Regions from separate parts of the Homo sapiens genome. Here regions 1, 2, 3, 4 and 5 are each linked to region 6. Evidence: promoter capture Hi-C in 16 types of primary human blood cells and fetal thymus (Javierre and others, 2016). All regions are on one chromosome and are shown on one strand. Each heading gives the region's core, a stretch centred on a gene start or on the middle of the fragment in contact. The rest is flanking DNA. Distances are from core to core; before and after follow the strand shown. Region 1 overlaps ARMH1 (armadillo like helical domain containing 1). Region 2 overlaps RNF220 (ring finger protein 220). Region 3 overlaps ARMH1 (armadillo like helical domain containing 1). Region 4 overlaps KIF2C (kinesin family member 2C). Region 5 overlaps KIF2C (kinesin family member 2C). Region 6 holds the start of MUTYH (mutY DNA glycosylase).

Evidence for each region. Contacts are between HindIII fragments. The CHiCAGO score rates a contact against its expected background, and 5 or more counts as called.
Region 1: a contact is called between a fragment that was not itself captured here and the fragment with the promoter of MUTYH in region 6, in 2 of 17 cell types (fetal thymus and naive CD8 T cells). The highest score is 5.5, in fetal thymus.
Region 2: a contact is called between a fragment that was not itself captured here and the fragment with the promoter of MUTYH in region 6, in 1 of 17 cell types (naive CD4 T cells). The highest score is 5.8, in naive CD4 T cells.
Region 3: a contact is called between a fragment that was not itself captured here and the fragment with the promoter of MUTYH in region 6, in 1 of 17 cell types (total CD4 T cells). The highest score is 5.2, in total CD4 T cells.
Region 4: a fragment that was not itself captured here is called in contact with the fragment with the promoter of MUTYH in region 6 in 1 of 17 cell types (naive CD4 T cells); the score reaches 6.0 in naive CD4 T cells.
Region 5: a fragment that was not itself captured here is called in contact with the fragment with the promoter of MUTYH in region 6 in 1 of 17 cell types (naive CD8 T cells); the score reaches 5.0 in naive CD8 T cells.

Annotation. Positions count from the first base shown.
Region 1 is chr1:44,724,966-44,729,109 of GRCh38, forward strand. It overlaps ARMH1 (armadillo like helical domain containing 1), which reads left to right. Exons shown (of 12, transcript NM_001145636.2): 11 at 171-252; 12 at 326-626. The coding sequence ends at 438. Among named protein-coding and RNA genes, the nearest start is that of RNU5D-1, 4.1 kb to the right of the region's middle. The HindIII fragment of the contact is 2,190 bases long and covers 1,405-3,594 here.
Region 2 is chr1:44,629,459-44,633,926 of GRCh38, forward strand. RNF220 (ring finger protein 220) reads left to right here. Exons shown (of 15, transcript NM_018150.4): 6 at 2,885-2,927. Among named protein-coding and RNA genes, the nearest start is that of SNORD145, 39 kb to the right of the region's middle. RefSeq lists enhancers at 2,019-2,118, 2,211-2,758, 2,449-2,538, 3,149-3,238, 3,308-3,855 and a silencer at 2,569-2,878. The HindIII fragment of the contact is 3,724 bases long and covers 298-4,021 here.
Region 3 is chr1:44,696,406-44,700,649 of GRCh38, forward strand. ARMH1 (armadillo like helical domain containing 1) reads left to right here. Exons shown (of 12, transcript NM_001145636.2): 3 at 697-765; 4 at 1,658-1,824. All of the region lies in intron 4 of LOC105378690 (a long non-coding RNA gene), which reads right to left. Among named protein-coding and RNA genes, the nearest start is that of RNU5F-1, 23 kb to the right of the region's middle. The HindIII fragment of the contact is 1,210 bases long and covers 723-1,932 here.
Region 4 is chr1:44,745,928-44,750,105 of GRCh38, forward strand. KIF2C (kinesin family member 2C) reads left to right here. Exons shown (of 21, transcript NM_006845.4): 3 at 1,457-1,558; 4 at 1,725-1,773. Among named protein-coding and RNA genes, the nearest start is that of KIF2C, 8.2 kb to the left of the region's middle. The HindIII fragment of the contact is 179 bases long and covers 2,307-2,485 here.
Region 5 is chr1:44,767,753-44,771,933 of GRCh38, forward strand. KIF2C (kinesin family member 2C) reads left to right here. Exons shown (of 21, transcript NM_006845.4): 21 at 1-15. Among named protein-coding and RNA genes, the nearest start is that of RPS8, 5.7 kb to the right of the region's middle. The HindIII fragment of the contact is 6,266 bases long and covers 1-4,181 here.
Region 6 is chr1:45,337,577-45,341,709 of GRCh38, forward strand. It overlaps MUTYH (mutY DNA glycosylase), which reads right to left and starts at 2,394. Exons shown (of 16, transcript NM_001048174.2): 1 at 2,323-2,394. It overlaps TOE1 (target of EGR1, exonuclease), which reads left to right and starts at 2,594. Exons shown (of 8, transcript NM_025077.4): 1 at 2,594-2,728; 2 at 3,497-3,639; 3 at 3,727-3,767; 4 at 3,897-3,993. The coding sequence starts at 2,677. RefSeq lists enhancers at 1,916-2,583, 2,584-3,252, 2,605-2,954, 3,253-3,919. The HindIII fragment of the contact is 741 bases long and covers 2,075-2,815 here.

The DNA.
Region 1 (4,144 bases), core at 1,250-3,749, 610 kb before region 6:
GGGACTGCTCTGGCGTAGGCTCCTCCACCCGCCACCTTCCTGTTCCCTTTCCTGCCCTTTCGGTCAGGCTGCCGACCCGCCCCCCACCTGCAACATCCCTCTGCCAAGCCCAACTCCAAGTCCAGACTGCCCTGGCACCCCAGCCGGGTCCCCCTTGCTCCTGTCCTCAGAGCAACGCTGAGGACTTGTACATGAAAATAGACAGCATTCAGGCGGACATCTTGGCGGCCAACACAGTCAATGTTACCAAAGGTGAGTGTGGGACGAGGGAAGCCGGGCGCAGGCGCCGCCAGCACAGCCTCACGCCCGCCTTTCCTGCCTGCAGCCCTGTGCCTCCATGGCAGCTCCTACAGCATGAACACTCTCTATGGCTCGCGCGATTCGGCTCAGATGGCCTACCTCACACACTTCGAGGAGGATGTAGAATCAAAGGAGTAACAGCCCCTGTGGCAAACCAGGAAGGCCAAGGCTGCGGGGCAGGGAAGCCTGGCAAGAGGAAGGCGCCTGGGGTCAAGCTCAGAGCCACTCCACTTGGCTCCAGGGGGGAGACGGGGATTAGGCATCCCAGAGGGGCAGAGGAAGAGCCGCTGGCTGCGAAGAGTCAATAAACAGCCTTGATACCTGTCTGTTCTTTGTGTGTGTGGAGGGGGAAGGGAGGTCAAGTGAGAGCTATGATGCTAGATTGTGGTGCCTGTGCTCCTCAAGTTAAAAAGCAGGTCCAAGTTTAGGACGGTGGCTTGCACCTGTAATCCTAGCTACTCTGCAGGCTGAAGGAAGAAGATCTCTTGAGCCCAAGAGTTGGAAGCCATCATGGACAACAAAGCAAGACCCCATCACAAAAACAGGCCGGGCACGGTGGCTCACGCCTGTAATCCTGGCAGTTTGGGAGGCTGAGGTGGGCGGATCGCCTGAGGTCAGGAGTTCGAGACCAGCCTGGCCAACAGGGTCAAACTCCGTCTCTACTAAAAAATAAATAAAAAATAAAAAATTAGCCGGGTGTGGTGGCACACACTTGTAATCCCAGCTACTTGGGAGGCTGAGGCAGGAGAATCACTTCAACCCGGGAGGTAGAGGCTGCAGTGAGCCAAGATCACACTACTGCACTCCAGCCTCCTGGGCGACAGAGTGAGACTCATTCTCAAAAAAAAAAAAAAAAAAAAAAAGCAGATCCAGAGGGAAGGGCCACCAACACCCTAGAAGGTTCAAGGGCATAGCCTGAATAGAGGGCCTCACCTCCACTCCCTGATGGCCTATGCACCCTTTCCTCCAGAACACCCTACCTACCTGGTTTTTCTCCGGTTGTTACAGACATTAAAGGGGGTCGTTTGATCCTAATGGGTCCTTTCCTTGCCTGGAACCATTTGCACCAATAGAACAAGGCCAGGTTCCATAAAGCAGAGCAGAAGCTTTATTCATTGATCTAGGAGATAGCAACAGGAGGCAGCCAAATGCCTAGGCAGATAGGGGTGGGTCCCCAGTGAACCCCACCTTCAAACCAAAAACAGCCTGAAGGCTGAAAGACCGACTGCTGGTCCTGGATGAAACCCACAACCCAGAGTGAGAACTTCTGTTTCTGTTTGCCTGCCCTTTCCTGATTGATTCTTTCTGAATAATGCCTTTTAACCAATTGAATGTTGCCTTTTCCAATACTACCTATGGCCTGCCCTTCCCCCATTCTGAGCCCATAGAAGCCCTGGACTCAGCCATATTAGGGGGACTTTCCCACTTTCAGGTAGGGGGACCACCCCCCACAGCCACCGAAAGCTGTTTTATCACTCAGTAAAACCCCACCTTGCTCACTCTTCAATTGCCAGTGCATCCTCATTCTTCTTGGGCTCGTGGGACGAGAACTCGGGAACCAGTGCATAAGCTAGACTCCGCCAACTGGACTGAGCGGGTGGGTCGTCTCCTGCAGCAAGTAAAGGCCATCTCCTGCAGCAGGTAGCCTGGCGAGTGAGACCTGGCAGGGCATTGCTGGCCAGAGGTCCCCAGCTTGCAAAGTGACCAAGAAGAAAACCTTACATCATAGGAATGGAGGAAGGGGAGCTCATGCTCAAAGCACCTTCTCCCAGGGGGAGGGGCCTGGTAAAAAGGGAGTCTCAAGGGAACTTAGGGCAGGTAGGTGGAGACTGGGTTGAGGATTTCTGGAAAAAGGTAGGTTCTTCCAGGAGGGGCTGGAGTGTGCATAGTCTTTTTTTTTTTTTTTTTTTTTTTTTGAGACGGAGTCTCGCTGTGTCACCAGGCTGGAATGCAGTGGCACAATCTCGGCTCACTGCAACCTCAGCCTCCTGAGTAGCTGGGGCTACAGGCATGCACTACCAAACCCAGCTAACTTTTGTATTTTTAGTAGAGATGGGGTTTCACCATCTTAGCCAGGCTGGTCTCGAACTCCTGACCTCATGATCTGCCCGCCTCAGCCTCCCAAAGTGCTGGGATTACAGGCGTGAGCCACCACACCCAGCTTTTTTTTTTTTTTTTTTTTTTAGACAGGGTCTCTGTTGCTCAGGCTGGAGTGCAGGGGTGCAATCTCGACTCACTGCAACCTCTGCTTCCCAGGCTCAAGCAATTCTCATGCCTCAGCCTCCGGAGTAGCTGGGACTACAGATGTGCACCACGACCACATTCAGCTAATATTTTTTTCTTTTTTTGTAGAGATGAGGTCTCACTATGTTGTCCAGGCTGGTCTCCAACTCCTGGGCTCAAGTGATCCTCCTGCCTTGGCCTCCCAAAGTGCTGGGATTGTAGGCATGAGCCACTGTGCCTGGCCTGAGTGTGCATGGTGTTGTTTTTTCTTTTGAAGATTTCTCCTCTTCAATCCAGTCTCATTCAAGTTGGAGTGAGGCAGGGCTCCTGGTCTGGAGTCTCTCTTCTATCTGCTTTTACACCCTGCTGATTTCATCCTGTCTCAGAACTTTAAATATCATTATAGGCCAATGACTCCTACATTTCTATTTCCAGCTAAACATTTCCACCTCATCGTGTCTAAAACTGAACTCCTAATCCCGTGCCACTTTCCCCAATTCAACTCATGGCAACTCATCCTTCCTATAAAACAAAACAAAATAGTGGAGTGCTTTTTAATGTCCGTCTTTAGCACCCATATCTATTATGTCTGTTGGCTCTATCTTCCAAATACATCCAGAATCCAACCATATCTCACTACCTCTATTGTTAATACTCTGGGCTGAGCCACTATCATCTCTCTTCAACGTTATTCTGCTTTTCTCCCTCTTCCTGTTCTCTTTTCTTTTAGTTTCTTTTTTTTTGAGATGAAATGTCACTCTGTCACCCAGGCTGGAGTGCAGTGGTGTGATCTAGGCTCACTGGCACCCACCACCTCCTGGGCTCAAGCAATTCTCCTGCCTCAGCCTCCCGAGTAGCTAGGATTACAGGCTTCTGCCACCACGCCTAGCCAATTTTTGTATTTTTAGTAGAAACAGGAGTTCACCATGTTGGCCAAGCTGGTCTCAAACTCCTGACCTCAAATTATCCACTCACTTCAGCCTCCCAAAGTACTGGGATCACAGGCGTGAACCACTGTGCCCAGTCAATACCTGTTCTCTTTTTAATACGACAGCCAGGGTTATCCTTTTAAGCTTCAGATTCTATCACTGGGCTCAAACCTTGGAGGGCTCCCCATTTCGCTGAATGAAGACCCTAGGTGCTCAGGTTTCCCATCACCTCTCTAAACTCTTCTGCCTCTGTCTGTCCTTCACTCTGCTCCAGACACACTGGACTCCCTTGCTGGTTCTTTTTTTTTTTTTTTTTTTTTTAATTGGCAAAGAGGCCGGGCGCGGTAGCTCACGCCTGTAATCCCAGAACTTTGGGAGGCCAAGGTGGGCAGATCACGAGGTCAAGAGATGGAGACCATCCTGGCTAACACAGTGAAACCCCATCTCTACTAAAAATACAAAAACTTAGCCGGGCGTGGTGGCGGGCACCTGTAGTCCCAGCTACTCAGGAGGCTGAGGTAGGAGAATGGCGTGAACCCGGGAGGCGGAGCTTGCAGTGAGCCGAGATCGCGCCACTGCACTCCATCCAGCCTGGGCGACAGAGCAAGACGCCGTCTCAAAAAAAGAAAAAGAAAAAAAGAAATTGGCAAACAAGCTCTTGTCTCAACGCTATTGTACTGACTGTTCACTCT
Region 2 (4,468 bases), core at 910-3,409, 710 kb before region 6:
GCTTAGTGTCCTTGCCTTCAAGGGGTTAGATTTGCAGATAGACAATTATGGTCCAGTGTCTTGAGTGCTATGACAGGAGTATAAATAAGTTTCTAGGGGCCAGGCACAGTGGCTCATGCCTGTAATCTCAGCACTTTGGGAGGCCAACGCAAGTGGACTGCTTGAGGCCAGGAGTTCAAGACCAGCCTGGGCAACATGGCAAAACCCTGTCTCTACTAAAAATATAAAATAAAAAAAATTAATAATAAAGAATACGTTTCTAGGATACTACAGTAGAAGGAGGAGAAAATCAGAGTAAGCTTCACACAGGAGGTAATGACTGAAAACGGACTCAGAGAAGGAACAGAAGTTCACTTGGCAGACAAGGAAGAAAGGTTACTCCAGATATAAAGACAACACTATGTAGAGAACATAGAGGTGTAACAGAATGATGTATCTGGGGACCTGCTAGCAGTTTGCTTTTGTTAGAAAGTAGAATGCAAGGAAAGTTAGTAGGTGAAGCTGGAAAGCAACCCAGAGACTAGCTGGGTATCCCATCCCTTGCTCTTTACACAAGGCCTGGCATGTAGTAGTTGTTCAGCTATGTCGGATTTTTAAAGTCACTGAGCTAGGCCTTGAAACCAGGGGGTATTGGTTTCTGGGGTTTTGTTTTTGTTTTTCATAGAGACAGGGTCTCACTATATTGCCCAGGCTGGTCTTGAACTCCTGGGCTCAAGCAATCCTCCTGCATTGGCTTTCCAAAGTGCTAAGATTAAAGGCATGAGCCTTGGTTTCTGGTTTGAATTCTCATTTACTTAGCCCCTGCTGACTAACTAACCCTCTTTATCATTACCTCACTTAAACCTCATAGCAACTGTATTCATCATGCCCAGTCTATTACCAAGGAAACAGGCCTAGAAAGAGGTGACTCTTCTAAGAACACATAAATTGTAAGTAACAGAATTAGGACTTGAACTTGAGTCTGTCTGGCCCTAAATCCGAGATTGTTTCCCAACCCATCACTGGGCTCAGGGCTTATCTCATAAAGTCTTTCTCCCGTTCCCACTGGTGTCTCCTTCATGCAAGACGCTGTGCTGGGTAAATGGCTAGAGATGACCTTCCAAGTACAAGGGACAGATATGTAAACAAACAATCAAAATATACATGATCAAAGAGAAGCAGTGGAACTGAAAACTCAGAGGAGGCATCAAACCCAGGCTTGGGGGACAAAACTAAGTCTTGCCAGAGTCCTGAAGGATGAACAACAGTTAACCAAGCAAGGGATACTGGAGGGCATGGAGGCTCTCTGGCCTGGAGTGCAGAGCATGGAGTGCTCAAAGAGCTAGTTAGCTCTGCAAAGCTGAGTGTCAGGAATGTAAAGGGAGAGAATAGGAGTGAGAGAAGAGTCTGGCAAGGCAGACAGGGAAGGCCTATATGCCTTGATGGAGAACCACTGAAGGATTTAAAGAAGGAGAGGGTTAATTTTGTCCAATAGAAAGATCACATTGTGTGTAGTGTGGAGGATGGGTTGCAGAGAGAGAAGCTAGAGACCAAAAGATGAGACGGGAACAGCTGCAAATTTCGAGAGCTCGTAAGATTATGTATGACTGGAGCACAACGACAACCAAGGTAGGTACAACCATGGAAGAACAACTCAGGGCTGACTTGCCTTTGCCCAGTGCCATGCTGGGCTCTGGGTTCACCCAAATAATTCACACACGGCCCCAACCCTGAAGTGGTCAGTCCACTGATAAAAACTTCACAAGCGATGATAACGGCGCAGAGATGAATGTACTCTTACACAAGGCAAAGCTATTTTTCAGTTAGACCTGGAAGGATGAGTAGGAGATACAGAGGTGGAGATGAGAAAATTAGCGACCTTTCAATGTACACTTTCAGGATCTAGAAAAGGATTGAGTGTGAGGGATGGAGAAAGTGGGGTCCAGGACGACTCTCAACTTTCTTCTGTGGGCACACCTGAGTAGATAGTGGCTTCCTCTTATGAACAGGGAACCCAAGAGGAAGGCCTCTGTTTGGAGGATACTGAGTTCCATGTTGGCCATGTTGGCCGTGTGGGTATGCAGTGCCTATGGGAGCTCCAGGGGCCGTGCAGCAGACAGCTGACATGTTGGGAGTCCTCTGATAACAGAACTGGATGGCCTAGGGGTTGGGCGGGGATCGCCCACAGGCGATAGGGAATTCGGACGCCTTGTCCCCTGTAAAGCACCCAACGCGATGCCTCTGCCCTAAGGGCAGCCGCGAGAAAGGCAGGCACAGGAGGCGGGAGCCGGGGCCGGGCGATGGGGCGGAAGGAGCCCCGCAGCGGGAGGGGTCGTGGAGTGGGGTGGAAGGACTTCGCAGCCGCTAAAGATTGGGTGGGTAGGCTTCACGGGCGGTGGGAGGGACCCCGGGGAGGCTTCTGCCGGTTGCTACCCGAGTACAAACGGCAGCTTCCTGGTCTCTGTCCGGCCGCCCCCGCCGCATTGTGAACTTTCACCCCCAGCGCGCGACGGCGGCAGATCACGTGATTAGGGCCAACATGGCCGCCGCCGCCGCTTGGAGCTGAAGTGCCGCCGCCGCCGGGCAGCCACGGGGAATCCGCCCGCATCGCCGCCCTCGCCGGCCGGGCGGCCGTGGGGCCCAGAGCGCCGGAGGCCAGGGCTGGGGCGGCACCGCGCAGCGGCCACGGGGTCCCGTTAGAGCAGCGCCCGGCGGCTATGCCGAGAGCCCGGAGCGGCCGGAGGAGCAGAGGGGCCGGCGGGAGGGAGGAAGTAGGTTTGTTTACGGGCTGTTTGGGGCGGAGCAGCTTTGGTCGGGGGTCCGGTGCTGGGGCGGGGGCCAGGACTGCAGGCCGCGCCTGACGCTCTCTTTTCTTTTCTTGCATCTGCCCGCGATCTTCTCCCAGACCTTTCTGCGAGTACGAGCCAACCGGCAGACCCGACTGAATGGTGAGTCCTGCCCGGCCCCTCCCTCCGCCCCACCCCCGGCCTCCTCCCTCCCTCCCTCACTGCCTGCCGCTCCTGGCTTGCCTGGGTCTCTTCGACTCTGGGGCCCGTTGGCTTCTTCGCAGTCACGGCGCCTGAGTATGTGCAAACCAAAGCTGCCGCTCTCAGTTTCCCCGTCTGTCTAATGGAGGTATGGCGCCCAGCTCTTGCCCAAACCTCTCTAAAGGCCCTGAAGAACCCTGGGGGGGCAATAAGTGCCGGAGAATGAGGAACGAGCTACACAATTCTACTCGGGAGCTCAGCTTTGAATTTGCAAACTGCTGGGACCTCACTATACAAACCTGCAGGGCGCTGAGAATGTTTTTCTTCCAGTTTTTAATCAGTGCCCAGTAGTGTGAATACAGCCCCTCTGCTGAGACTTGACAATACAGTGAGATCTGGAGTTCCCACGGCAACAGGAACTAACTCATCCCAGGGCTCTTTGAGTTATCAGTCGGCCCACATTTCACAAAGGTGATCAGCGTGGGCTCGACAGCTCTTAGAGGCCTTCTCTGAAAGCAGGCCGTGTATGCACTACCTAGCAGCCCCCCTTTTGGATTCAAACCTCTGGAGCATTCCTGTTTGCTGAATACAATTGAATGATCCTAGCTTTTTGTGCTTACTGGGGTGTGGTATCTGGGGGGTGGCTGTAAGGGGTTTAGGGTCTCTGGGTCAGCTGGTAAGTGAGAGAGGCCATGGAGTTCAAGATCCCCAGCTCTTATCACTTGGTTTCTGCTGCCAGGCTGAGCCCTAGTCTGGAAAAGGGAGAAATTCATGATGGGCTGGCGCCATGTTAAGCACCATTCTCACAACGCCTCTGAGAAGAGTATTACACACCTTTTGTGAATAAGAAAACAGGCTCTGAGAGGTGAAAGTGGTTTGTTTAAAAGTACACAGCTGGGATGTAACTGAGCCATGATTCAATTGAAGTTTGTTTCCCACCAAAGCCCGTGTTTCTCCAACCATGCCATGCTACCTCCTTGGCAAATGCTTTGATTCTTCCTACTCGTACGTAGCCTCTGGATAGAGAACAGAACTTTCCCTACCACACTTTGGTAAGCTTAATTCAGGATTTAGAAGATGAATGGGAAGGTGAAAACCAAACCTGCCTTCCTTCTCTGAGAATTTGCAGATGAAGCCCAGTCCATTGGGGTGCTTTCCAGGGACAACAAGGGATCATCTGCTGGCCTGTGTGTCCTGAGCAAGGAGCGCATCCAGTATTGTGCCTTTCTTGACCATTCCATGAGATTCGTTTCCTTAGTCATTGAACATTGTGGTATCATCAGCACCTTCTTCCCCAGGGAGGCATTCCCTTGGTGTAGGCATGGTAGGGAGGAAGCTTTGTGTTGGCACACTGCTCCTTACTACACTTCTAGAACTCTCAGGGTCCTTTGCTCAATGCCTTTCTGATGTTTCACGTCCATTCTCCATCCCAGCCCTGGCTCTAGAGTGTCAAGGCTACCTAAGTCTGAGATTCCAAGAGTTAGGGCAGCCAAAATGAAGAG
Region 3 (4,244 bases), core at 78-2,577, 640 kb before region 6:
TCTGATGTGTTATGAGCCTAGTAATTGTTGACTGGTTCCTTTTCTGTTGTGGCTTGATTTCATACCTTGTATCTGAGCTGATGCGTGCTTTGGGTACTTTATTATAATGAGGCTTTTTGCAAAGACTCACATTAAAAAATAACATTAAATACTGAGGTTGTTTTAAATCAGAGTTTAATTTTTCCACCATCTCCTATTATTCTTATTAGGAAGCCAATTCTTCATAAGGATAGTGACCTCCAGTGTAAAACTTTGAACAAGTACAAAAATTGAGAATTAATGATGAAGCTGGTTCTTTTTAGGGAAATCTAAGAATGAGGCACAAAGTCATGAACTATGCTGACACCAAGGATGCAATGGGCATGGCTTAGAGAGCTTTGGGATATTGACCCCCAGCCTTCTCCAGGGACCCTTAATTCATCAGAGCCTCCTTGTTCCCTAGAAAGCCTGTAAGAGCCAAGGTGGCTGAACTGCCACAGAGGAGCTTCCTGGAGAACAGTGAACAGCCAGCACCCTCTTCCCCCAACCCTGTGTGTACTGCCACTTCCCCTTCCGCTGGTAGCTCCTCTCAGGGTAAAGAGGCACAGTTCAGCTACTTGGCCACCCTGGGCCCGGGGTGGTACCAGAGATCAGGCACGGGCTCTGGCTTCTGTGTGAAAAACCACCCTGAAACTCACTCTTTAACGTGTCATACAGCTATATGACTGACTCATGTTTAGAAAAGCTTCTCAGGTCCATTGGCATCTTCTTATCAGCTGTAAGCAGGTGAGTTCTGTTCTAGCGTGATTCTGGGGGTCTCAGTGGCATCTCAGGCTCATGATGTCTTTGGCATTCACACCACCCAGGGCCACGGATTCCTGTTAGCAGTGGGTTCCTTGTAGCTCTTGGGATGGGCCCAGAGGTAATGTCCACCGGGCTCCTGCTCTAGTTGCTCCCCCATCCCTTTCTCTCCAGTGGCGCTTCACTAGTCAGCACCCTCTCGGTTGTGAATTACAGAAAACCAACTCATATTGGACTCAGAAAAAGGAAAATTAGTGGCTCACTTAACTGGAAAAACCCAGAGGGTAGAAATACATATTTCAGCCCTAACTAGATCCAGGGCTCAAACAATGTCATCAGTACTTGGCCTCCTTCTCTGTCTTTTCCCCCATTTCTGTCTCTTCTCCTCTGTGTTCATAGACCTCTGTATGCCATGGTCCTCAGGAGCTCTAGACATACCAAAAACAGAGCAGATCCTTTCCACAGCTTCCCAAGAAAGTCCCAGGCTTTGAGCCTCATTGGACCAATTTAGGTCCCATGCCCAGCCCCAAACGAACTTCTGCAGTCAGAAGGGTGACATACCCTGTCACCTCCTCACCCCACCAAAACTACATGGCCCATGAGTGGCAGAGGGGTGATTCCCCAAGTGACAGTTGAGGTGGTATTACAAGAAGAAGAAGAGATGCTGGAATGGCAAAACCAAGAACTGTCCCTAGTATGTAATTCCAGTCTTTCCTGCTGGAAGGAAGAATTTCCACACTCGTATCACTTTACCTATGGACATTTCCTGGATAGGAGGGCAAAGTATGTAAAGAGGGGACCTTGGGATCTCTTTGAAAGCTCAGTGCAAAGGAACTTGACAAGAGTTTTATTTCTACTTTTCTATCCCTCTGGACAGTAATCGGTACCTTATAGAATTTCTTGAGGTTGGAGGTGTCCTAACCCTCTTGGAAATACTTGGGCTAGAGAAGATCAAGGAGGAGGCCAAGAAGGAATCTGTCAAACTACTTCAGGTTATTGCGAACTCTGGCAGGACATACAAGGAACTCATTTGTGAAAGCTATGGTGGGTACTGTGTGTGACAAGATGTGTCTCCCTAGGGGCCTGAATGACATGGTGGCAGAACCCACCACTGCTATAGGAAAAACACATCATGAAACTGGTTGAACAGGAAGCTTTTTGTGCTCCTGTCCATGTCACCACTGGAAGACCCAGATTTATGATTCTCCTGATTCATCATTTGCTCACATTTTTCAGTAGTGGTTTTAGAAATACTTCTCCTTTTTAAATATATCCTCTTTCAGGCATCCATTCAAAGATTTGTTGAGCTGTGGCCCAATATCTTTTGTGAAATTGAGTTATGAGGCCGGGCGCGGTGGCTCACACCTGTAATCCCAGCATTTTGGGAGGCCAAGGCAGGAAGATCACCTGAGGTCAGGAGTTTGAGACCAGCCTGACCAACATGGAGAAACCCCGTCTCTACTAAAAATACAAAAAAATTAGCCTGGTGCAGTGGTCGGGGCCTGTAATCCCAGCTACTTGGGATGCTAAGGCAGGAGAATCGCTTGAACACAGGAGGCAGAGGTTGTGGTGAGTTGAGATCACACCATTGCACTCCAGCCTGGGCAACAAAAGTGAAACTCCATCTCAAAAAAAAAAAAAAGAAATTGAATTATGAATAACTCAAGAAATAAAATTGAAGGCCAGACGCAGTGGTTCACACCTGTAATCCCAGCACTTTGGGAGGCCAAGGCGAGTGGATCACCTGAGGTCAGAATTTGAGACCAGCCTGGCCAACATGGCAAAACCCCCTCTCTACTAAAAATACAAAAATTAGGCCAGGCGCGGTGGCTCACGCCTGTAATCCCAGCACTTTGGGAGGCAGAGGCAGTCGGATCACGAGGTCAGGAGATCAAGACCATCCTGGCTAACACGGTGAAACCCCGTCTCTACTGAAAATACAAAAAAAAATTCAAACGCATGGTGGCACGCACCTGTAATGGCAGCTACTTGGGAGGCTGAGGTGGGAGAATCGCTTGAACCCGGGAGGTGGACATTGCAGTGAGCCGAGATCGCGCCACTGCACTCTAGCCTGGGCTACAGAGCAAGACTCCGTCTCAAAAAAAAAAAAAAAAAAAAGGAAATAAAATAAATTTGAAATAAAATTATTGAATACCTACTGTGTGCTAGGTATATGCCAGGTGCTAGGGATACAAAAATGAATACAATATAATCCCTGTCCTCAGACAGTTTAGAGTCTGGTGAGAAAAGTAAATAATATAGTTTTTATTTTTTTCTTTTTTGAGACGGAGTCTCACTCTATCGCCCAGGCTGGAGTGTGGTGGCGCAATATCAGCTCACTGCAACCTCTGCCTCCTAGGTTCAAGCAATTCTCATGCCTTAGCCTCCCAAGTAGCTGGAATTACAGGCATGCGCCACCATGCCTGGCTAATTTTTGTTATTTTTAGTAGAGACGGGGTTTCGCCATGTTAGCCATGGCTGGTCTCAAACTCATGAGCTCAAGCGATCCACCCACCTCGGCCTCCCAAAGTACTGGAATTACAGGCATGAGTCACCGCACCCTCAATAATTTTAATATAGTCCATGAAGTGAGGCATGTAAAAGAGATGCCATCCCCCACATCTCCCTTTTTCCTTTTCTTTTTCTATTTTTTTTTTTTTTTGAGTTGGAGTCTCGTTCTGTAGCCCAGGCTGGAGTGCAGTGGCACGGTCTCAGCTCACTACAACCTCCACCTCCCGGGTTCAAGCGATTCTCCTGCCTCAGCCTCCCCAGTAACTGGGACTACAGGCGCGTGCCACCAGACCCAGCTAATTTTTGTATTTTTAATACAGACAGGGTTTCACCATGTTGGCCAGGCTGGTCTCGAACTCCTGAACTCAAGCCATCCACCTGCCTTGGCCTCCCATAGTGCTGGGATTACAGGCGTGAGCCACAACGCCTGACGAACATCTCCCTTTTTCAAAGCACTTCCCACCCTGCATTCTCATCAAGGTTCTCCTGCCTGTCTACCCCATGGCCTCTCGAAGCCTCAGTGTCTTCATCCATAAAGCGGGAGAAACACCTTCCTCTTGGTATGGTTTCTGGGATTAAGTGAATTAGTATTTGTAAAACCATTTTGCAAACTGCTGAGTGCTATACAAGTGTTATCATGGCCGGGCGCCGTGGCTCACGCCTCTAATCCCAACACTTCGGGAGGCCAAGGTGGGCGCATCACGAGGTCAGGAGATAAAGACCATCCTGGCTAACACTGTGAAACCCTGTCTCTATTAAAAATACAAAAATTAGCCAGGCCTGGTGGCACACACCTGTAGTCCCAGCTACCTGGGAGGCTGAGGCAAGAGAATCGCTTGAACCTGGGAGGCAGAGGTTGCAGTGAGCCGAGATCGCACCACTGTACTCCAGCCTGGGCAACAGACAGAGACTCCATCTCAAAAAAAAAAAAAAAAAAAGAGTTATCATATAGC
Region 4 (4,178 bases), core at 1,146-3,645, 590 kb before region 6:
GTGCAGTGGCGGGATCTCGGCTCACTGCAAGCTCCGCCTCCTGGGTTCACGCCATTCTCCTGCCTCAGGCTCCTGAGTAGCTGGGATTACAGGTGCACGCTGCCACACCCAGCCAACTTTTTGTATTTTAGTAGAGACAGGGGTTTCACCGTGTTGCCCAGGCTGGCCTTGAACTCCTGAGGTCAGGTAATCCGCCCACCTCGGCCTCCCAAAGTGCTGGGGTTACAGGCGTGAGCCACCGCACCCAGTCCTGCAGGTTTCATCTCTAGGCAGTAAAGCCCTCACCCTAGAGTACATGCTTCAGCTCTGTCACATTTTGAAATACAAAGTTGGGACAAATTTAATATGTCTGAACCTGTTGTAAAGCTATCCTGGTGAAGTTTGAGTTGTTCCTGGAGAATTGCAGGACTCTGATGATGTAAACTTAGAATTGTGACCTCATTGCAGGCATCAACAGGAAATAGGTAAGGCATGGGCAGGAAGCCGTAACTGGGGAAGTTTCTGGGCCCAGAAGAAAATGTAGGTAGTCTTAGGGTTAGGTAGCAGCTGTCAGGAACTTGCCCCTGCCCATAAGATCCTAAAGGGCCCCCATTTGACTCTCACCAGACAGTTAGAACTTGTTTCCTCCTCCGTGTCAGCCATCAAGAGGTGCTTGGGGGGCTGTGCCCAGCAGGACCTCACTGCCCAGCAGATCAGCAGGGGAGCCAAGTGGCCTAGATCTGCTGTGGAGTACCCGACTGTTTGCCTGCCTGTCTGCCCTCCTCTTCACCTCATTCTCATCACTGACGTCTACCATTGGCTTGGAAATCAGAAACCCATATCCATCTAGATGGTAAACCATTATTAAGGAGTAACTATTTGTTTTATAGCTATTCATACTTAGTGGAACTTAAAGTTGGTAAAGTTTGAATTTAGGGGTACCCCTGTCTATAGAAATTTAATTTTTTCTATGTTGTTTTTTTGTTTGTTTGTTTGTTTTTTGTTTTTTGAGACAGAGTCTTGCTCTGTTGCCCAGGCTGGAGGGCAGTGGCTCAATCTCAGCTCAATGCAACCTCCGCCTCCTGGATTCCAGCAATTCTCCCGCCTCAGCCTCGGGGGGGCCAGGCACAGTGGCTCACACCTGTAATCCCAGCACTTTAGGAGGCCGAGGTGGGGAGATCACCTGAGGCCAGGAGTTTGAGACCATCCTGGCCAACATGGTGAAACCCTGTCTCTACTGGAAATACAAAAATTAGCTGGGCGTGGTGGCGCATGCCTGTAGTCCCAGCTACTCAGGAGGCTGAGGCAGGAGAATTGCTTGGACCCAGGAGGCAGAGGTTGCATTGAACCAAGATCGCACCACTGCCCTCCAGCCTGGGCGACAGAGCGATACTCTGTCTCAAAAAAAAAAAAAAAGAAAAAATGTATTTGGATTGAACAATGTTGTTTCATTGAAACTTTTACTTGCTCCTTGCAGATTGATTTTGATGATGTGGCTGCAATAAACCCAGAACTCTTACAGCTTCTTCCCTTACATCCGAAGGACAATCTGCCCTTGCAGGAAAATGTAACAATCCAGGTAGGTGCCTGTCATCTGGCTGCAGCCAGTGCGCCAGAGAATTCACTTTGCTTATTGACTCTTTGCTGATTGATTGTCTGGCATTTTAGCATAGTACATGGGCCCAGGATGGGCCCTTGAGAATTGATAAGAGCCATATATTGTGACAATTTGATTTGTTTTTCAGAAACAAAAACGGAGATCCGTCAACTCCAAAATTCCTGCTCCAAAAGAAAGTAAGTGGATTTCTACTAGCTTACTATCATGGAATTTGTGTCAGGAATTATGTTTCTAGGACTCAGAGTTGTGGAAGCTCCTCTTTTGCAGGTGGTTTCTATGTGGGTTGAGTCCTGCCTGTGTTCCAAGCATCTTTCTCTATGAGAAAGAATCCAATCTACAGCTATCAGGCCAACCTTTAAGAGACCTGGTGCATTTAGGAAATTTGCTGCCTGGCCTAGAAACCTTTTCTGTAGAATCCAGAGCCTGATGCTGAGGAGAGTAGGAATCAGCCATTGGTAGGCCTTTTTTCTTCCCTCGGGGCTCAGCCCCCTCAGTGGAACAGTATGCCTTGGAAAGAGATTTTGAAAATGGGAGACACTAGGCCTGTGGGTTGTTTAGAAGTACAGTTGGTGGCGCTATAGAGAGGGATGGCTGGGGCTGGAGAGAATAACAGCATTGCCTCGTGGTCTAGGAGGTTGGGAGTCTCTCTGCAGAAGTAGTCTGTGAAAACCTACTTTGACAACATGATAGACTGTGACTCTAGGGGGTAAGCTTCCCAAAAGATCCAGCTTAAAGCCAGTTGTACCTTGAAGGCTGGTGACCTGCACAGCTCTCCAGGTCTAGGGGTCATCATTGCCCTGAAATGATTCAGCTACCTCAGGGACTCACAGAATACTTGGCTGGAGCTTCAGGTTCTGGGGGCCCTGAGTGGAAGGTGGTGCCATTGCAAGCTTGGGCCTGACTATTGTGGTGCTGGCCCTTTCTTGCTGGGTGTACCGTAAGGTCATGCAGGAGAGTTGGGACTCGCAGCAGTCCCATTCCGTGTTCATGTCCTCAAAGGATATTGCCCCAGCTTTGTTTTGTTTTGTTTTTCAAAGGCAGGGTCTCACTTGGTTGTCCATGCTGGAATACCATGATATGATCGTAGCTCACTGTAGCCTTGAACTCTTGGGCTCAGGCAATCCTCCCACCTCAGCCTCCCATGTAGCTGGGACTACAGGTGTGCCCCATCACACCTGGCTAATTTTTTTTTTTTTTTTTTTTGTAGAGACAAGGTCTCACTATGTTGCCTGGGCTGGTCTCAAACTCCTGGCCTCAAGTGATCCTCCTGCTTCAGCCTCCTAAAGTGCTAGGATTGCAGGCGCGAGCCACCATGCCCAGCCAATAGCTTTTTTTCTTTAGGATGGAGTCTCGCTTTGTTGCCTAAGCTGGTCTTGAACTCCTAGCTTCAAGCAGTCCTCCTGCCTCAGCCTCCCAAAGTGCTGGGACTACAGGCACACACCACCATGCCCAGCTACACAGCTCATTTTAATGGAAAAAAAAATCTTTAAGGCCCTGAGCAGTAGCTCATGCCTGTAATCCCAGCACTTTGAGGGGCCAAGGTGGGCAGATCACCTGAGGTCAGGAGTTCCAAGCCAGCCTGGTCAACATGGTGAAACCCTGTCTCTATTCAAAATACAAAAAACTGGCCGGGTGTGGTGGCTCACACCTGTAATCCCAGCATTTTAGGAGGCCAAGGCGGGTGGATCACCTGAGGTCAGGAGTTCAAGACTAGCCTGGCCAACATGGTGAAACCCCTGTCTCTACTAAAAATACAAAAATTAGCCAGGCGTGGTGGTGGGTGCCTGTAATCCCAGCTACTCAGGAAGCTGAGGCAGGAGAATCGTTTGAGCCCGGGGGGGCAGAGGTTGCAGTGAGCCGAGATCATGCCACTGTACTCCAGCCTGGGTGACAGAGTGAGACTCGGTCTCAAAAAAACAAAGAAAAAAAATTACAGATCATTTGGGGCTAGATGTGATGGCTCACACCTGTAAGCCCAGTGCTTTGGGATGTTGAGGCAGGAAGATGGCTTGAACCTAGGAGTTTGAGACCAGCCTGGGCAATATAGCAAGACTCAGTCTTATTATAAAAATAAAAAATAAAATAAAATCATTAGGGAAATAGGACGATTGTAAAAATTCAAAACATGGATTATATATAGCCATCAGCCTGAACTTATAATACTCAGAAACTGGGTAGAAGTTGGTTTTGGCAGAGGTTGCAGTGAGCCAAGATCATGCCACTGCACTCCAGCCTGGGTGGCAGTGTGAGACTCTGTCTCTCAAAAAAGATGGGCTGGGCACGGTGGTTCACACCTGTAATCCCAGCACTTTGGGAGGCCGAGGCGGGTGGATCACAAGGTCAAGAGATTGAGACCATGCTGGCCAACATGGTGAAACCCCGTCTGTACTAAAAAAAAAATACAAAAATTAGCTGGGTCTGGTGGTGCACACCTGTAGTTCCAGCTACTTGGGAGGCTGAGGCAGGAGAATTGCTTGAACCCAGGAGGTGGAGGTTGCAGTGAGCCGAGATCGCGCCACTGCACACCAGCCTGGGCAACAAGAGCGAAACTCCTCAAAAAAAAAAAAAAAAAAAAGATTCA
Region 5 (4,181 bases), core at 771-3,270, 570 kb before region 6:
TTAAGTGTGTGGAAAGGGCCTGGGATGTGTCTGAGCCTTTTGGGACTAAGGACATGACTGTACCTTTGGCCTCTGGGTAGTACTGATTCTGTACTCCTTCCAGGAGGCCATATCCACACCTACAATTCCAATGACAAGCTGAAGACTCCTGTGACTTGTTTGATGTCTATGAGATGCTTACTAGGCCTGGGAACAGAAACTCTTAAGTAGAAGGAAGATGGCCGCCGGGCACGGTGGCCCACGCCTATAATCCCAGCACTTTGGAAGGCCAAGGCGGGCAGATCGCAAGGTCAGGAATTCAAGACCAGCCTGGCCAACATGGTGAAACCCCATCTCTACTAAAAATACAAAAATTAGCTGGGCATGGTACATGGTGGCACGCACCTATAGTTCTAGCTACTCAGGAGGCTGAGGCAGGAGAATTGCTTGAACCCGGGAGGCGGAGGCGGCAGTGAGCCGAGACTGTGCCACAGCACTCCAGCCTGGGAGACAGAGTAAGGCTGTCTCAAAAAAAAAGGCCAGGTGTAGTGGCTAACACCTGTAATCCCAGCACTTTGGGAGGCCGAGGCAGGTGGATCACCTGAGGTCAGGAATTGGAGACCAACATGGTGAAACCCCGTCTCTACTAAAAATCCAAAAAATTAGCCGGCCGTGGTGGCGCATGCCTGTAATCCTAGGAGGCGGAGGTTGCGGTGAGCGAAGATCGCGCCATTGCACTCCAGCCTAGGCAACAAGAGCGAAACTCCGTGTTAAAAAAAAAAGAAGATGGCACCCTATTACAGTCAGCCCAGGGCCTGTTAAAAGATTCTGTGGGGTTGAGGCCAGGAGTCCCCCTGACTGAGGGCTCCCTGAACACACATTTGCTTAAAACCTTTTAGTGATACCTCATTACCATTCACACAAAGGCTGATGAAAGCACTTAACTTGCTGGACAGGGAAGGATCCAAAGGGAAACACCAATTTGGTCTTGAAAAAAAGTCTGTCCAGTGGACTGAGGGCCCAGTCATAGGGCATGAACAGTTTAGGAACTGGAGAACTCTATATTCCATGTCATTGAGCATGGATTATCTGAATGGTAATGAGGTGCCACTAAAAGGTTTAACCTAGGAACCATACAAGCAAATGTGTGGGAAGCCCTCAGTCACAGAGACTCCTGGCCTCAAGCAATCCTCCTACCTCGGCCTCCCAAAGTGCTGGGATTACAGGCATGAGCCACTGCACTATGCCAGCAGTTCACTTTTATTTCTAGTTTGAGTCTTTTAATCGCCAAAGGGTATTGGATTTTGTCAAATGCTTTTTCTGTGTTTTGAAGTGATCAGGTGGTTTTGTTTCTTCCTTTACTCCATTTGTTTCTTCCTTTACTCCTTTACTCCATTAATATGGTACATTAAACCTGGGAAAACCAAGCAAATACAATGTGGTGAGTAGAACAATAATTTGCTCGAATATTTAGTGCCATTTAAATATTTATTGAGTGAGGCCGAGGCGGGCAGATGGCTTGAGCTCAGGAGTTCAAGACCATCCTGGGCAACAAAATGAGACTCAGTCTCAGCTGGGTGCTGTGGCTCATGCCTATAACCCCAGCACTTTGGGAGGCCAAGATGGGCAGAAAACAAGGCCAGAGTTGGAGACCAGCCTGGCCAACCTGGTGAAACCCTGTCTCTACAAAAATGAGCTGAGTGCTGTGGCTCACACCTATAATCCCAGCACTTTGGGAGGCCAAGATGGGCGGAAAACGAGGCCAGATTGGAGACCAGCCTGGCCAACCTGGTGAAACCCTGTCTCTACAAAAATGAGCTGGGCGTGGTGGCGCATGCTTATAATCCCAGCTACTCGGGAGGCTGAGGCAGAAGAACCGCTTGAACCCAGGAGGCAGAGGCTGCAGTGAGCTGAGGTCGCACCACTGCACTCCAGCCTGGGCAACAGAGCAAGGCTCTGTCTCAAAAAAAAAAAAAAAAAAAAGACCCAATCTCTACAGAAAATACAAAAAGGAGCCAGGCGTGGTGGCATGTGCCTGTGGTCCCAGTTCCTTGGTAGGGTAAGGTGGGAGGATGGCTTATGCCTGGGAGGCAGAGGTTACAATGAGCCGAGATTGCGCCATTGCACTCCAGCCTGGGCAACAGAACCAGTCCCTGTATCAAAAAAAAAAAAAGAAAAAGGCTGGGCACGGTTGGTCACACCTGTAATCCCAGCACTTTGGGAGGCCGAGGCGGGCAGATCACAAGGTCAGGAGATCAAGACCATCCTGGCTAACATGGTAAAACCCCGTCTCTACTAAAAATACAAAAAAAAAAAAAAAAAAATTAGCCAGGAGTGGTGGCAGGCGCCTGTAGTCCCAGCTACTCAGGAGACTGAGGCAGGAGAGTGGTGTGAACCCGGGAGGCAGAGCTTGCAGTGAGCTGAGATTGTGCCACTGCACTCCAGCCTGGGCGACAGAGCAAGATTCTGTCTCCAAAAAAAATAAAATTATTGAGTACTTATTAAATAGCAAGCATTATTCTATGTATAGGTGTTAGAAATATGGCAGTGAATAAGACTAAGTTTCTACCCTTATGCACATAGTATTTCAGTGGAGAAGACAGATAATGTGCATGTAAACAAATGATAGGTAGTAAGTGGGTAGAGAAAGATGAGAGAGTGTTGCTGCTTTAGAAAGCAGACTCAGAACTGTGGCCTGAGCAGTATAATGAGACCCTGTGTCTAAAATTAAAAAAAAAAAAAGGCCGGGCGTGGTGGCTCAAGCCTGAAATCCCAGCACTTTGGGAGGCCGAGGCAGGCTGATCATGAGGTCAGGAGATCGAGACCATCTTGGCTAACACGGTGAAACCCCATCTCTACTAAAAATACAAAAAATTAGCCAGGCGTGGTTTTGGGCACCTGTAGTCCCAGCTACTCAGGAGGCTGAGGCAGGAGAACGGCATGAACCCGGGAGGCAGAGCTTGCAGTGAGGCAAGATCGCACCACTGCAGCCTGGGCAACAGAGTGAGACTCCGTCTCAAAAAAAAAAAAAGAAAACACTACCCTTCTGCTCTACATTCCTTTCCAGCCAACAACCTAATTCTCTCTTTCCCCTTTAAAGTCATACCTCTCAAAATAATTGTCTACATACATTGGATTTTTTAACTTCCCATTCTATTTCAAGTTTTTTCCCACTGTACTGTACAGAAACTGCTCTCGCCAATATCACCAAGGACTTTCGGGTTACTAAATCCAATAATCACCTTTTTTTTTTTCTTTGAGACGGAGTTTTGCTCCTGTCGTCCAGGCTAGAGTGCAGTGGAGTGATCTCGGCTCACTGCAACCTCTGCCCCCCAGGTTCAAGCGATTCTCCTGCCTCAGCCTCCAGAGTAGCTGGGACTATAGGTGTCCACCACTGCACCCAGGTAATTTTTGTATTTTTAGTAGAGATGGGGTTTCGCCATGTTGGCCAGGCTGGTCTCGAACTTCTAACCTCAGGTGATCCACCCCCTTGGCATCCCCAAGTGCTGGATTACAGGCGTGAGCCACCGCACTGGCCTAATAATCACTTTTTAGTCTCATTTTAACTAGCATTCACAGCAGCATTAAGCTACGGCAGCACCCTGTGTTGGCTTTCCTCTAGTCACTCTAATTTCTCTTTCTGTGTCCTTTGCCAGCTATCTTTCTCTATCTGGCCTTGAAATGACAACATTCCTTTGTTTTTTTGCGGGGTGGGTATGGAGTTTCGCTCTTGTTGCCCAGGCTGGAGTGCAATGGTGCGATCTCAGCTCACTGCAACCTCTGCCTCCTGGGTTCAAGCGATTCTCCTGCCTCAGCCTCCTGAGTTGCTGGGATTACAGGCGTGTGCCACCACGCCTGGTTAATTTTGTTATTTTTAGTAGAGACGGGGTTTTGCCGTGTTAGTCAGACTGGTCTCAAACTCCTGACCGCAGGTGATCTGCCCATTTTGGCCTCCCAAAGTGCTGAGATTACAGTCGTGAGCCACCGCACCCAGCCGAAATGTAGATATTCCTAAAGCCTTGGACCTATGTTTTTTCTTGTATTTTTTTCTTTCTTTTTTTTTTTTTTTAATAGGCAGCTGGAGAGGCTGCTTAGGTCAATTATTTTCTTTTTTCTTTTCTTTTTTTTTTTTTTTTGAGACAGGGTCTTGCTCTGTTGCCCAGGCTGGAGTGCAGTGGCATGATCATAGCTCACTGTGACCC
Region 6 (4,133 bases), core at 1,144-3,643:
TTAAATTCTTGAGCAAGCTGGTTGTGGTGGCTCAACACTGTAATCCTGCTACTCTGGAGGCTGAAGTGAAGAACAGCTTGAGCCCAGAAGGTCGAGGCTGCAGTGAGCTATGATTGTGCCACTGCACTCCACCCTGGGCTCAGCAAGACCTTGTCTCTTAAAGAAAAAAAAAGATTGAGCAAATATTTATAGAGCCCCCTAATATGTGCCAAGCAGTTTTAGGCACTTGGCATACTTCAGTAAATAAAACATCAAAAGTTCCTGCCCTCAGGGAGCTTATATTCTAATGGGGACAGAAAAGGAATAATGAACATAAGTAAATTCCATAAGATGTTAGGTGATAAATATTAGCATAAAAAGCAAAAATTAGACCAAGAGGGGAAAAAAAAGAGTGCCAAGGTGGGGTTTAATGTTGCAATTTTAAAGACTGTGGTCAAGGTAGACCCAAAGCATTCTAAGTGAGTGCAAAGGCCCCAAGGAGGGTGCCTGGTATGTCTGTGGTACAGTAAGTAGGTCAATGTGGTTAGAATGGAATGAGATGGGACTGAGTGGTAGAAGAGGTCAGAGAAGTAAACCAGATGAGGTGGGGAGAGGAGGGTCACAAAGTACCTTATAGGCCATTGGAGGGATTTGGCTGCCACACCCTTGCTCTTAGAAGGCAGTCCTCTTACTACAGCCTTGCAGGTCCAGTGATCCGGGCACCATCCGCCTCATCCCCTCACTATGCTCTAGCCAAGGTTGACTGAATTTAGTTGCTTAAACACCTCAAGTGTGTCTGCCCACCTTGGGGCCTCACACAATCCATTTCCTCTGTTTGGACTCTTTTATGCTTTTACCTAACACCTTATCATTTTTCAAGTCTTGACTGAAATGTCCAAATCAGGTCCCCTCATCTTATCCTATCACATATTTCTGCCTTGTAGCTCTTACCTAATGTAATTTTACATTACTTTGATTCTTTCCATCAGTGTGTACTTCCTGAATTTGACTGTAAAAAACGACTTGAGTGCAAGGACTGATTCTCTTGTTGATTGGTGTGTGTCCAAAGTCAGTGCCAGGTAAACTGTACACAATAGATACCTGTTAAATGAATTAATGGGATGGGGGATAGTCAAAAGAGTTTCCCTTTTTTAGGATAGGAGAAATCCAAAGAGTTTTTTTATTTTTGTTTTTTTTTTGTTTGTTTGTTTTGTTTTTAGAGACAGTGTGTCCCTCACTTTGCTGCTCTGCCACTCAGGCTGGAGTGCAATAAGAACATGGCTCACTGCAGCCTCGACCTCCTGGGCTCAAGCCATCCTCTCACCTCAGCCTCCTGTAGCTGGGACTACAGGTGCGCACCACCATGCCCAACTAATTTTTAATTTTCTTTTTGTAGAGACAAGGTTTCACTATGTTGCCCAGGCTAGTCTTGAACTCCTAGGGTCAAGCGATCCTCCCACCTTGGCCTCCTAAGATGATTACAGGCCATAAGCCACTGCGCCCGGCCCAAGCAGTTCTGAATAATGATGAAATGGGCTCAGTTGAGAGAAGCTGAAGATTAACTATAAACAATGAGTAACAAAGGAGCACTGGAAGGCAGAGGTGGATGGGAATCGTAGTGTTTACGGAGGGACTAGTCTCCAATAGGAATTTTTTTTTTTTTTTTTTTTTTGAGACGGAGTTTCGCTCTTGTTGCCTAGGCTGAAGTGCAAAATGGCGTGATCTCGGCTCACCGCAACCTCTGCCTCCCAGGTTCAAGCGATTCTCCTGCCTCAGCCTCCCAAGTAGTGGGATTACAGGCGCCCGCACCATACCCAGCTAATTTTTTTTGTACTTTTAGTAGAGACGGGGTTTCACCATGTTGGCCAGGCTGGTTTTGAACTCCGGACCTCAGGTAATCCGCCCGCCTCGGCCTCCCAAAGTGCTGGGATTACAGGCGTGAGCCACCGCGCCCGGCCTAGGAACCTCTTTCAAATTCAATCACCCTCTAGGTCGACTATACCGCCTAGCTGCTTCACAATTTGTCCCTTCCTCGCCATCCATACTGCCAGCCTTAATTCAAGTTCACATTATCACTTGATTGGATTATTACAAAAGCTTCCCTACCAATCGGTCGCTCTTACACCCTGGGCAGCCTCCTCCGATGGCCCACTCCCCGCCTCTTTCACTTTCTGGAGATCACTGAGCTCTCCATCCTCTCTGGGAATTTACCGATGCCCAGAACGCCCTTCTTTCCCCCACACGACCCTCTCCTAGTCTAACTCCTGGGCGTGCTTTAAGCTCAGCTCAGGCAGCGTCACCTTCTCTGGAAAGCCCAAACCCAGCCACCCCACTACCCGCTACCCGCGGCCCACGCTGATGAAGACAGCAGAACACGGAGGCCCCGCGTTCCCGCCGCGAGAGCAGGAGAGAAAGATTACCTCCCGCGAGCTCTAGCGCGCCCGGCTTTCCGGCGCACTCCAGGGGGCGTGGCTCGGGTCCACCCGGGCTGCGAGCCGGCAGCACAGGCCAATAGGCAATTAGCGCGCGCCAGGCTGCCTTCCCCGCGCCGGACCCGGGACGTCTGAACGGAAGTTCGACCCATCGGCGACCCGACGGCGAGACCCCGCCCCATCCCCGACTGCCTGAACCGCGCCAGGAGACGGACCGCAAGTCCAGCGTACCCACAGACGACTCAGGCGGGAGACGAGCGGTGTCATGGCCGCCGACAGTGACGATGGCGCAGTTTCAGCTCCCGCAGCTTCCGACGGTGAGCGGCTTCCCAGAGGTAGCCTTCAAAGCCTCTGCGCTCTGGGAGAGGGGAAGGCCTCGGGCTCATAGTTCTAGAGGCTCCTCAAGCTTCAGAGGACTGCTCCTTCCGCCTGAACTAGCCACGAGGAGACTACAAGTTCCGTTGTACACCGCGGCTCCGGCTGCAAAAGCCTGGAGCGTTGGGAGCATGGGGCTGATGGAGGCATGGCGGGAGATGTAGTCTGGAGCTCATAACGGTTAGTAGTAATAGTTGTGATTCAGTTCAGTGGAGTGGATTGAGCGTTGTGATCCAAAGGAAGGTAGGACGTATTGGGAGCTCTGGTGTGGGGCACTGCCAGGCTCTGGGGCTTACTGGGAGCTGTTGCTTGTGGCGCTGGGGCACCATGAGAACAGTAGTATGGATCCCTGTGGGATATTAAGGGAGCTGAGATCCTCAAGCCCTACAAAATGTTTCCTGCAGGACATGGGAAAAAAGAATCAAAGGTCGTCTAGTCCAACTTTCTCCTCTACAGATTGTGAAAGCGAGGTGGGAAGTAATTTACCCAGGCTCATACAAGCCAGTAGAAGACTCAGGCTTCCTCTCCCCAAATTCAGGGCATTCTCCACTCCAAGGCCTGTGTGTAGAACACGTGGGTTACAAAGGCTTGTGGGAAAAGCTACCAATGGAAACTACCCCCCTTACCACCATCACCGTGGCCTAGCTTGGTGTCTGTTCCCCTGGGCTCTTTCCTTAAGCATGAACATCCATCACCCTCCTAACCCCCAGGTGGTGTCAGCAAAAGCACAACATCTGGGGAGGAGCTAGTAGTCCAGGTTCCCGTAGTGGATGTGCAAAGCAACAACTTCAAGGAGATGTGGCCATCCCTCCTGCTAGCCATAAAGACAGCTAATTTCGTGGCTGTGGACACGGTGAGAGTTGGGAAACAAGGAGGGCAGGTGGTTGTGAAGGGGCTGGTGCTAGAGGCCTGTCACAACTCTCCCTTTACCTACCCACAGGAGCTGAGTGGGCTTGGGGACAGGAAGAGTTTGCTGAACCAGTAAGTATAAGCCCTTTTCTCTTTAGTGCCAGCCCTCAACTGTGGAGTGGGGGGGTCACAGACCTGGGTGGTTTGGGTCCTTCATAAGGCTAACTCCTAGCCACAGCAACCCCCATACCCAACCCCAAGGTGCATTGAGGAACGTTACAAGGCCGTGTGTCATGCTGCCAGGACCCGTTCTATCCTTTCCCTGGGCCTCGCCTGCTTCAAGCGGCAGCCAGACAAGGTATGAGCTGATCTCACCCCAATCCTAGGTGTGGCTGTGGGGTGGAGGGTAGAGAGATTCTAGGGAACATCAGATAGGAAGCATTTCTCTCCCAAATCTTTTTTTTTGACTTGATAGTTTTTTTTTTTTTATTTGAATAG